Regions from separate parts of the Homo sapiens genome. Here region 1 is linked to region 2. Evidence: promoter capture Hi-C in human tissues and cell types (Jung and others, 2019). All regions are on one chromosome and are shown on one strand. The core of a region is centred on a gene start or on the middle of the fragment in contact, and the rest is flanking DNA. Distances in the headings are between cores, read along the strand shown. Region 1 overlaps GRM6 (glutamate metabotropic receptor 6). Region 2 holds the start of ZNF454 (zinc finger protein 454).

Region 1 (5,002 bases), core at 2,232-4,731, 37 kb before region 2:
TCAGCTCCAGAGTATGTGGTGAGGACTGTGTGGAGCGGGGCAGGGAGAGCAGGGCTGAGTCCCATCTGGTCCCCTCTTCCATGGCCTAGATCTACATCCAGACAACCACGCTAACCGTGTCCTTGAGCCTGAGTGCCTCGGTGTCCCTCGGCATGCTCTACGTACCCAAAACCTACGTCATCCTCTTCCATCCAGAGCAGAATGTGCAGAAGCGAAAGCGGAGCCTCAAGGCCACCTCCACGGTGGCAGCCCCACCCAAGGGCGAGGATGCAGAGGCCCACAAGTAGCAGGGCAGGTGGGAACGGGACTGCTTGCTGCCTCTCCTTTCTTCCTCTTGCCTCGAGGTGGAAGCTGTATAGAGCCCGGGTCCACGGTGAACAGTCAGTGGCAGGGAGTTTGCCAAGACCATGCTCCGCGTCGGTGGGGCTGGCCTTGAGAAGGAACTGGACCCAGCTCTACCCCGATTCCAGCATGTGAGCTTCATGCTTCCTCACCACAGACCAGACTCGCTTCCCATGGTGGGAAACAGCCACCGAGAAGGTTCTAGCTCTAGAAAGGGACTAAACTTATTCTCTCATCCGAAGTCCAAAGAGGATGATGAAGCCCTGGGCTTTGCCTGGTTTGCGGGAGATTTCCTCCCCTCAGTCAACCCCCATAACCTGGGGATTGGGCAGTGTGGAAGAACGTGTAGACCCCAGAATGAAACATGGGGTTGGAGTGGAGGAGGAGCTGTCTCAGCAAGAGGAGACCTGGGGCTGTGCATCTGGATGGAGGCACTCAGGCCTGGGTAGGATTCCTCTGGCACGGAGGGAGAGACCCTGGGTGAGACCCCTGTGAGCATGGGAAGGGCCTGCAGTGGGCGCGGGAGTGAGCTGAGGAACTGGGGTGCGCCCCCATGAGATTCCCAATGCCATGGGCTTTCCCCCATCCCCCCGGGATTGGGCAAGGTCAGACTTAGAGTACAGCTGTTTTCCTCCCCTCTGTGTACTCCCTTAAATCACCCCAACCTTGGCCAGGCATGGTGGCTCACACCTGTAATCCCAGCACTTTGGGAGGCCGAGGCAGGTGGATCACCTGAGGTCCGGAGTTCGAGACCAGCCTGGCCAATGTGGTGAAACCCTGTCTCTACTAAAAATACAAAAATTAGCCAGGTGTGATGGTGGGTGCCTGTAATCCCAGTTACTTGGGAGGCTGAGGCAGGAGAATCGCTTGAACCTGGGAGGTGGAGGTTGCAGTGAGCTGTGATTGTGCCACTGTACTCCAGCCTGGGTGACAGAGCGAGACTCTGTCTCAAAAAAACAAAACAAAAAAACACCAAAAAAACCCCCAAACCTGAAGAAATTCAGATACACGTGTGTAATGTTAGTGATGTGAGAACAAGGAGCAGGGGTGCATTTGTGTTGTGTTCGGGTTGGGGATGGGTTTAGGAGCTCCAGGTTGGGAGCAGTGACAGAGAGTCATGGCCGTGGTGAGGGTGAATCCCAAGTGGATGGCTCAGGACGGGTATGGAAACCCTTCATTCCTCATAGGTACTGGGAAGTCCATTTGCAAGCTGAGCGCCAGGCCTGGGGAGGAAGAGGCTTGGGCTGCAGATGCACGCACATTTGTTTTTCACTGATAGTTTTTACAAAAAGCTTGGTTTAAGTTATGGAGTTTTATGTCCCTGGGAGTAGAATTTACATTTGTTAAATTGACCACTGTTTAAGATCAGTATACATTCTCTAGTCTGTGATGTCTGGAGCTAGTTTTGAGGGTGAACCACACTTTATCCAACATACAAACTTTCCCATGCAGCTTCTCTGGTGCGCAGTTGGTTTTGACCGTGGGACTAGGTGCTTCTGCAGGTTTTAAGTAATTAACTTAAAAGCTTCTCCTCTGAGAAACATTTCTGTTGCGCTACTGACTCTCCTTCTCCACATTTGTTGTGTTCCTAGGGCTTCTCTATAGTGCACATTAGGACGTTTCATTTGTTGCTGAATGCTTTCCAGAATTATTTATTCCATAGGGTTTCTCTCCTGTGCAGCTCTCTCATGGGTAATGGGGCGTGTTTTCTTGCCAAAGGCGGTTCCACCCTCGTGATTGTATAGGGCTCTTCTCCTGTATGAACTCTGAGATCAGTGAGCTCTGATCTCCAAGGGAAAGTTTTCCTGCATTTGCTGTTTTCTCATGTCTCTCCCAGTGTGAATTCTTTGGTGTGCAGTGCGCTCTGGCTTCTAGCTGAAAACTTTTCCACAGTTTTACATTCATGTGGTTTTCTCCACTGTGAACTCTGTGATTCAGAATCAGAAGCAGTTCTTAGTAGAGGCATTTCTACACTGATTGCACTGAGGATTTCTCCCCAGTGTGAAGTTTCTGGCATAGAGTCCTGGCTTCCCGCAGACGACTTTCACACTCTGCCATGTTCATGCCTGTGGGCCTCTCTGGCAGGAACTCTGATGCACCGCGAGGCCCATGTACTCCTGTGGCTTTCTCACATTCGGTCTACTTGCAGGGTATCTCCACAGCATGCACCATTCTGGGTACAGGGGGACATCCTCTGTTACTGAAGATGTTGTCATATTTAGTACCTTCACAAGGTTTCTCTCCTTCCAGAATTTTCTGATGTACACAAATAACTGACTTCCACAAGAGGGCTTTTCCACACTCGGTGTGTGCATACAGTTTCTGCCTGTGATCATTTCTTTATGTTATTATTTTATTTTTTCGAGATAGGGTCTTGCTCAATTTCTTAGGCTGGAGTGCAGTGGCACGATCATAGCTCACTGAAGTTTCGACCTGGGCTCAAGCAATCCTCCCGCTTCAGCCTCCTGAGTAGCTGGTGCGCACGACCATACCCAGCTAATGTTTTATTTTTTGTAGAGACGAGGTCTCACTATGTTGCCCAGGCTGGTCTCGAACTTCTGAGCTCGAGCGATCCTCCTGCCTCCACCTCCCAAAGTGTTCGGATTACAAACGTGAGCCATCGCACCTAGCCTCTTTGATCATTTCTGTGGTGTTCAGTGGAGGTTGACAGCTCCCTAAAGATTTTCCTGTTTTTTTGCATGCATGGGTTTGAATTCTTTGAGGTCCAATTTATTTGGACCCCTGAATAAAGTTTTGTGGGTTTTCTTCTATGTGTGGAATTTATAAGGCATTCTTCCAGTGTGGTTTCTCTTATGTCGAGTGAGAGCTGACCTGCACCGAAGGTTTTGTCCCATTTGTTGCCCTTGAATTATTTGTATGAATTATATGTTCCAGTGAAAATGGAGTTCTGGGTTGGAGGCTTATTCCATGTTTACACAATTAAAATTGCAGTGTTCCTCTCTGGGATGAGAGCTCTAAAGCAGAGTAAGATTACGTTCTGATGTAAGCTTTAACCACCTATTTATAAGGTCTCACCTGTGGTCCACTGTGTTGAGACTTCTACAGAAGAGCTTCTGTATAGTAACCATTTTCTTAGGCTGTCTCACTTGTGTGAATCTTCTGACACATTTATTATAGCTTTGTCCCATTTCTTATCCTTTTTGCTCTTTAGAAATTTCCCTTTAATTTATTACATTCATTGCTTACTGTAAAGAGTCCAGGTAACTGACTTTATTCAGTTACTTCCTGTTCAATAAATTTAACTTTTCCCAAAAGTTTGACTTAGGTCTTCGGTTGCTTCTTTATACAGATATTGTTTCATAAAACTTCTTCAAAAATGGAATAAAATGCACAATTCCAAGTGAATCTTCTCATCATTTTATAGAATGAAACTGCTTCACAAATACTCTTTGTTATATTGATACCTTTGTTTCTAAACGTGAAAAATTCCAAACTAAATATTTTCTATCTCTTGGGCTTTGACAGGGGAAAAACTGCTGTAGTATGGACAGCCAGAGTGGAATACTGATGCTTATTACAAGTAGCTTGGGGGGTTTCAAAAATGACATTCCACCCTGTGGAGAAAAGGCTGAAGAAATGTAAGGGATAGGAACCAAGAAGGAATAAGGCTCTGATAAGAAGAAACTGACCAGTTGGATAGAATTCTAAAAGGCACGCAAGGGTGTAGAGAAGTAAATTAGTAAAAGGACTGGATCTGGCTGAGTGCAGTGGCTCATGCCTGTAATCTTGGCACTTTGGGAGGCTGAGGTGAGTGGATCACTTGAGGCCAGGAGTTCAAGACCAGCCTGGCCAACATGGCGAAACACCATCTCGGCAAAACACCATCTCTACTAAAAACACAAAATTAGCTGGGCATGGTGGCACATGTCTGCAATCCCAGTTACTCGGGGGGCTGAGGCTGGAGAATCGCTTGAACCCGGGAGGCGGAGGTTTCTGTGAGTTGAGATCGTGCCATTGCACTCCAGCCTGGGCAACAAAGAAAAACTCTGTCTCCAAAAAAAAAAAAAAGAAGACTGAATTTGAAAATTTTAAGCCTCATCACTTCATTTGTGGATTACTGTTTTACTCTATTCAGGCTGCTATAAAAGAGTACCATAGACTCAGTGGCTTCTAAAAAACAGACATTTCTCATAGTTCTGGAGGCTGGAAAGTCCAAGAGCAAGACACCAGTGGATTTGGTGAGGGCTGCCTGCTTGTTCTTAAACAGCACTCCCTTGCTGTGTCCTCATATGGTGGGAAGTGTGAGGGCACCCTGGGGTCTCTTTTATAAGGGCTCTAATCCCATTCCCGAGGGCTCTACTTTCATAACCTCCCAAAGGCCCCAGCTCCAAATACCATACAATGGGGGTTAGGATCTCACCATATGCATTTTGGAGCAACATGAATATTCAACCTATAGCAATTATTCTGTCAGAATACTAACTAGTCTTTCTGCTTCTTGTATCTTTTCCCTCTTATTCATCCTACATAGTATTATAAAAATCACCGTTCCATGGCACCGTGGTGCTGTGTCCCATTGCTAGGGTCCCAGCCATCTCCTGTCACCTCCATCTGGCTGTGGTTTATTCTCAAATTTACCTGCAGACTCTCCTAACAGAAACAGCAGAGAGGGCACATTAGTCTAGGGGAACACGGCCCC
Region 2 (5,163 bases), core at 339-2,838:
TTCTCCGATGAGCCCTCTTAGGGACAGGCAAAGTGCTATGGAGGCAGGTGTGGAGCTTCACACCTGCAGGACTCCTCAGGCTAGAAGGGTCCACACACCTGCTATTAGGAGAGAACTGGGTCAAAAGCTCTCATACAGCAGTCCAGAGCGAGGCAGTGAGCATTCACATCCTGGGAGGCCTCCAGTACCCCAAGCAGTGAGTGTTTTGGTTCCTGTTTGCTCCCCATTCTCTCTCCTCCTTCTGAGGGTACTATACATTGACTTTTCCCTGCAGAAAGCCTGCTCCAGGTCCAGTTCTCATGCCTTCCACCCACCCTCTGGTCTTTCCCTTCAGCCTCACTGAGCGATCTCAAGAGAATTCTTTTTTTGTTTGTTTGTTTGAGACAGAGTCTCGCTCTGTCACCTAGGCTGGAGTGCAGTGGCACGATCTTGGCTCACTGCAACCTCCGCCTTCCGGGTTCAAGCGATTCTCCCGCCCCAGTCTCCGGAGTAGCTGGGATTACACGCACCCGCCACCACGCCCGGCTAATTTTTTATATTTTTAGTAGAGACCGGGATTTCACCATGTTGGTCGGACTGGTCTCGAACTCCGGACCTCAGGTGATCGGCTCGCCTCGGCCTCCCAAAGTACTGGGATTACAGGCGTGAGCCGCCGCACTCGGCCGAGAATTATCTCTTTAACAAGTTATTCAGCTCCAGAACCCACCAGGATGTACCCGAAAAGGTGGGAGCGCTGGGGAGAGGCAACGGAGGGCAGTGTCTGGGTTCGACTGGATTGGAAGACCGCTCCGCTCTCCCTCTGCGGCTTTGGAACAGCTGCCTTATCTGGCAGTGACAGGAGAAGAGGAAAAGGAGGGTGGTCTTCTTCCTCCTCAGAAAGGAGGCTAAGAAGGCTCTTCACTGTCGAAGCCTCTCAGGCAAACCCTTCTCTGGCCTCAGTGTTCTCACTCTCTGGGGCCCAGTCTGGGTGGCCTGGAGTCACGGGTGGGCAGAAGCGGCGTTTGTGTGAGCTGGGCGGGAGGGGAGAGGGAAGGGTTAGGAACCCTAATCACACACAGCCCCGTCCCGCCCCTGCCGCTTCGCCAGGTCCCTCGGGGGCTGTGGCAGGGGCTGCGCAGCGGCTGCCTCCGGCCTTGGCGAGTTCCTGGCGCAGGACTCGGAACCACGCCAGGCGTGTATCTATCACCTGAGAGGAAACCCTGGGCTTCTCGGAGTCCGCTCCAAGACACATGCCAGAGGCCCTGGCTCCATCTCCTCCACAGGCACTCACAGACTCGACCCTCAGCCCAGGATGACCACCCCTGGCCGTCCTCCCTCTCTGGGATCAAATCTCAGACATACATTCCGGGAAGTTTGGGGCATTCGATCAGCGTCCTCCAGAATGGACCACAACCCGCACCTCCTCGGCTTTGCCTCCGCCCTTCTCCCCAGACGACCTCACGACCGCTCCCGCTCTCCCTCTGCGGCTTTGACCACCGTGCCTGGTCAGCCCCGTGTCGCTCTTCGAGGAGCCTCTGCCGGCGGCGAGAGATCGCAAGCGCCACATCGCAGTCAGAACACAATGAGCTGGAGTCTGCAGCCGGGAGCCGAACTGCGCTTGCGCGTTGCCCTGGGAACCCTTGGGCCGAATTCCCACAAGTCTCAGGGCTGCTGCAGTTCCGCCGGCCAGACTCCACTTCCCAGAGGGACAATCGGCGGAGACAGTGCTGCCTTGCGCCTGCGGGAACAGGGCCCGGCCCCGGCGCTTTAGGCGCGGAAACTACCTTTCCCAGAGACCCCTCCACGCCGACCTCAGCGCGCTCATTGCAACTTACAGAATCGGTTCCGTTCCGTTCGCTTTAGAACCAGGTCTCTGCCTTGCACTAAGGCGCAGGAAGATGCAGATCAGCGAAAAGCTGAAGATGGGGCAAGGGAGGTTAGTCCAGGGGAGCGACGCCCGATCGCTGACGAGAGAGGATCGGGAGGGTCCGGAAGACGGAGTGGGAGGCGACAGGGCGCGTTCCTGACTGGGACCGCGCCGAAAAGGCCTGGAAGGCAACAGAATTGCCCCTTGGCCTGGCAAGCGCCCGACACTTCCAGCCTGGCACTGCGGGCGGGCCAGCGTGTGCTGGGGTGGCGACGCCACAGCCACTAACGCGTGTGCGGTGCGGGAGGACAAGGATGTCGGGCAGGGATGTCCTGCTTGGCACCTCAGGACAGAGCCCATGGTGGCTGGCGGCCCCTGGAATGTTCGGGACGCAGAACACTTCGTGCTTGGGAACTTCTCAGAGGTGGGGACGAGGGAGAGGAAGGCGCCTGGATGCCAGGAAGTCTCCATCTTGGACAGCTGGGTGGTATTTAAGAAGGTGGTATTTATTTTTGTCGACCATATTTTGCAGAGACTGGCAAGGATGAGATGATGCCTAAGAATATCCAACTGGAGATACTTAGTTGCTTTTGAATAGGTAATTTGCATGGAGCTCAGGAAGGAAAGATGAGAGGGTTTTAACTTTGTTGGTCGTTAAAAAAAATCAAGAATGTGACCTGTTTGTCACATACGGAATTGTTGGCCACGTTTTAGGAAGCAGTGTCAGTGACTACAGCATTCTGTTTGGAGTTTTATTGAAGATTTCATTCCATAGACACTTTGGAGCACTTATGTGTCAAGTGCTTGACAAGGCCAGGGTCAGCCGCTGTGCAGCCCCTGTAGCAGTTCCCAGGGACCCGGCAAAGCACCAGAGGGGGAGGATGTTGTGTGAGTATCGCTGGTAACCCTTCTCTCTCGCCTCCCTCGTGACTCCAGGTCACTCAAACTGGGCTCCAGAGAGTAAGAACCCCGAGTCCAGGGGCTGGAGAAATAGCTGTGAAAACCCTGCACTCATGGAGTTTTAATTGTACTAGAGGAGGGGTCAGACAAGTAGAAAGTATTTATCTGGTAGTGATAACACTACTGTTAGGGGTTAGGGTGTGATGGGGCGGGGAATTATTTCAAGCAGCAGTTTTGGAAGTTCTCTTTGAGGAGGTAACACCTGAGCAGAGATTTGAATACAGTGAGGGAAGAAACGATGTGACTGTATGGGTAAAGTGCCTTCTAAAGGGAGGGAACAGAAATGCTGACCAGAGAGAAGTGTGCTTGGTGAACTCCAGGCTTGGCAAGGTCAGTATGACTGGCGAGGGCCTACTGAACAAGGAAGACTGCGAGATGCTGTTGCAGGAGTAACTACAGGCCTTGAAGGAAGGAAATTTGGATTTATTTCTGTGCCTGGAAATGATTAGATTTGAAAGAGTGACATGGCTGGGCACGTTTTGATAGACGCACTGGTCAGCTTCAAAGAAGGCAGACAGTGGTGGGGCTAGAGGGGATACAGGAAGACCAATGAGGAGGCAATGACAGCAGTCCACAATTACAAGTAGCCTCCCACAATTATATAACCTTTCCACAAGGCATTTGCTTTGAGAGCCTAATGATTCTAAGATATTGAAGGGTTTTGGGTGCTATGCTCAGGAGTTTGGATATTATTGTTTTCAGGAATTTAAGAATGATAATATGTATTGAGCACTAACTACATGTTGGGAGTTTTTTTGTTTGAGACACAGTTTCACTTTTGTTGCCCGGGCTGGGGTGCAATGGCATGACCTCGGCTTACCGCAAGCTCCGCCTCCCGGGTTCAAGCAATTCTCCTGCCTCAGCCTCCCCTGTAGCTGGGACTACATGCATGCGCCATCACGCCTGGATAATTTTGTACTTTTAGTAGAGATGGGGTTTCCCCAGGTTGGTCAGGCTGAACTCCTGACTTCAGGTGATCCGCCCGCATCGGCCCCCTAAAGTGCTGGGATTACAGGCATGAGCCACTGCGCCTGGCCATGTTGGGCACTTTTACAAGCACTTTACATTATCTAATGCAACCAAAAACTGAGGTTTGCCCTATTAATAAATGAGAAAACTGAGGCACTCATCTGTTAAGTGCCTTGCTCAGGTCCCATGTCCTTGGAACCAGGAGTCCTTCTCCTGTTGATGTTGGAAGGTTCAAAAGTGCTCTTATTACTTGTCACCCAGATGGCAAAGAACTGACATACAAAGGCCCAAGTCTTCCAGAACTGAAAACAGTAATAAAACCTTCATTTATCTGACCCATTTGTCCTGGTGATGCTGTAGTCTGTTAGGAGTACCTAACAGGTGCCCTTCCACAGCCAACTAAAAAACAAAACTATTCAAGCTGAAGAGAAGCAGTGAAACCTCTGATATGAAGCCTGACACACCCTTTGACTTTAGCCAGGACTCACACACTATATTGTTCTGAGTATTCACTGAGGAAGCCCCCGCTTCTGTCAAGGATTCTCATCAGGAACCAGTCTCCTCGGAGAAAGGAGGTTAAAACGTGGTCTGGAGAACCCCTTTCCCTTCTGCTCTATTAACTATGGATATGCAAATGAACACTTACATTTGACCAAGACCTCCATCACCAGTCTGCTTACGCTTCCCCAGGACAGTGGCTACGTGCCAGTAATTCCTGGTGTCCATTTGCTGAGCCCTGTTGGGACCCTTGAAGCGTGATATAATAAGGTCTTCCTTTAGCCTCATTTCTTCCTGCTTCTTGACTTCTACTCTATGCTTAAATCATACATCTCTTAGAATTTCCTGAATATACACTATGCTCTCTTAGCCTCTCTTGCCATTACTCCTATTCTTCCCTGCACCTTCTCATTTCCTCCCGTCTTCTGTTCACCCAACTAGTTCACTCTTATGGCACTGTGTGCTAGGAGCTACTTGACAGCAGAGAGCAGGCGTCATTTACCCTGGAATTCATAGAAGCTGACTTATGCTAGGAGCTCAATAAATGTTAGTTGCTTGAATGAACTACACTATGAGTAGGAACAAGGTCTTACTCATCCTTGTCACAATAACATGCAGCACAGGCCAATTACTTATGAGTCTCTTGACCACAGACCATCAGATCATGCCAATGTGTATATAGGCAGGGAAATAACCTACCTCAATTAAGTTATAAGCATTCATAAATTTTTCAGAGACCCTTCTCCTCCAGATCTGTTGTGATATTTTTCAGGAGCCAGAGGCAGTTGGAAGCTATGCAGTATCTAGGAGAGGGGTACTGGCACCATATTCTGCAGCTCCACTTTTATTCGTTAAAGAACCCTGACTGGTAACCTCTTTAAATGCCCAGA

What was found. Contacts are between HindIII fragments. The study calls those that stand out against the background at their distance.
Region 1: a contact is called between a fragment that was not itself captured here and the fragment with the promoter of ZNF454 in region 2, in 1 of the 25 tissues and cell types used here (pancreas).

Annotation. Positions count from the first base shown.
Region 1 is chr5:178,976,942-178,981,943 of GRCh38, reverse strand. It overlaps GRM6 (glutamate metabotropic receptor 6), which reads left to right. Exons shown (of 11, transcript NM_000843.4): 11 at 90-3,617. The coding sequence ends at 287. It also overlaps a transcript of ZNF454 not described here. Among named protein-coding and RNA genes, the nearest start is that of GRM6, 16 kb to the left of the region's middle. The HindIII fragment of the contact is 3,460 bases long and covers 1,752-5,002 here.
Region 2 is chr5:178,937,623-178,942,785 of GRCh38, reverse strand. It overlaps ZNF454 (zinc finger protein 454), which reads right to left and starts at 1,588. Exons shown (of 5, transcript NM_001178089.3): 1 at 1,342-1,588; 2 at 1-101. ZNF454-DT (ZNF454 divergent transcript) reads left to right here and starts at 1,771. Exons shown (of 1, transcript NR_186409.1): 1 at 1,771-4,110. The HindIII fragment of the contact is 17,658 bases long and covers 1-5,163 here.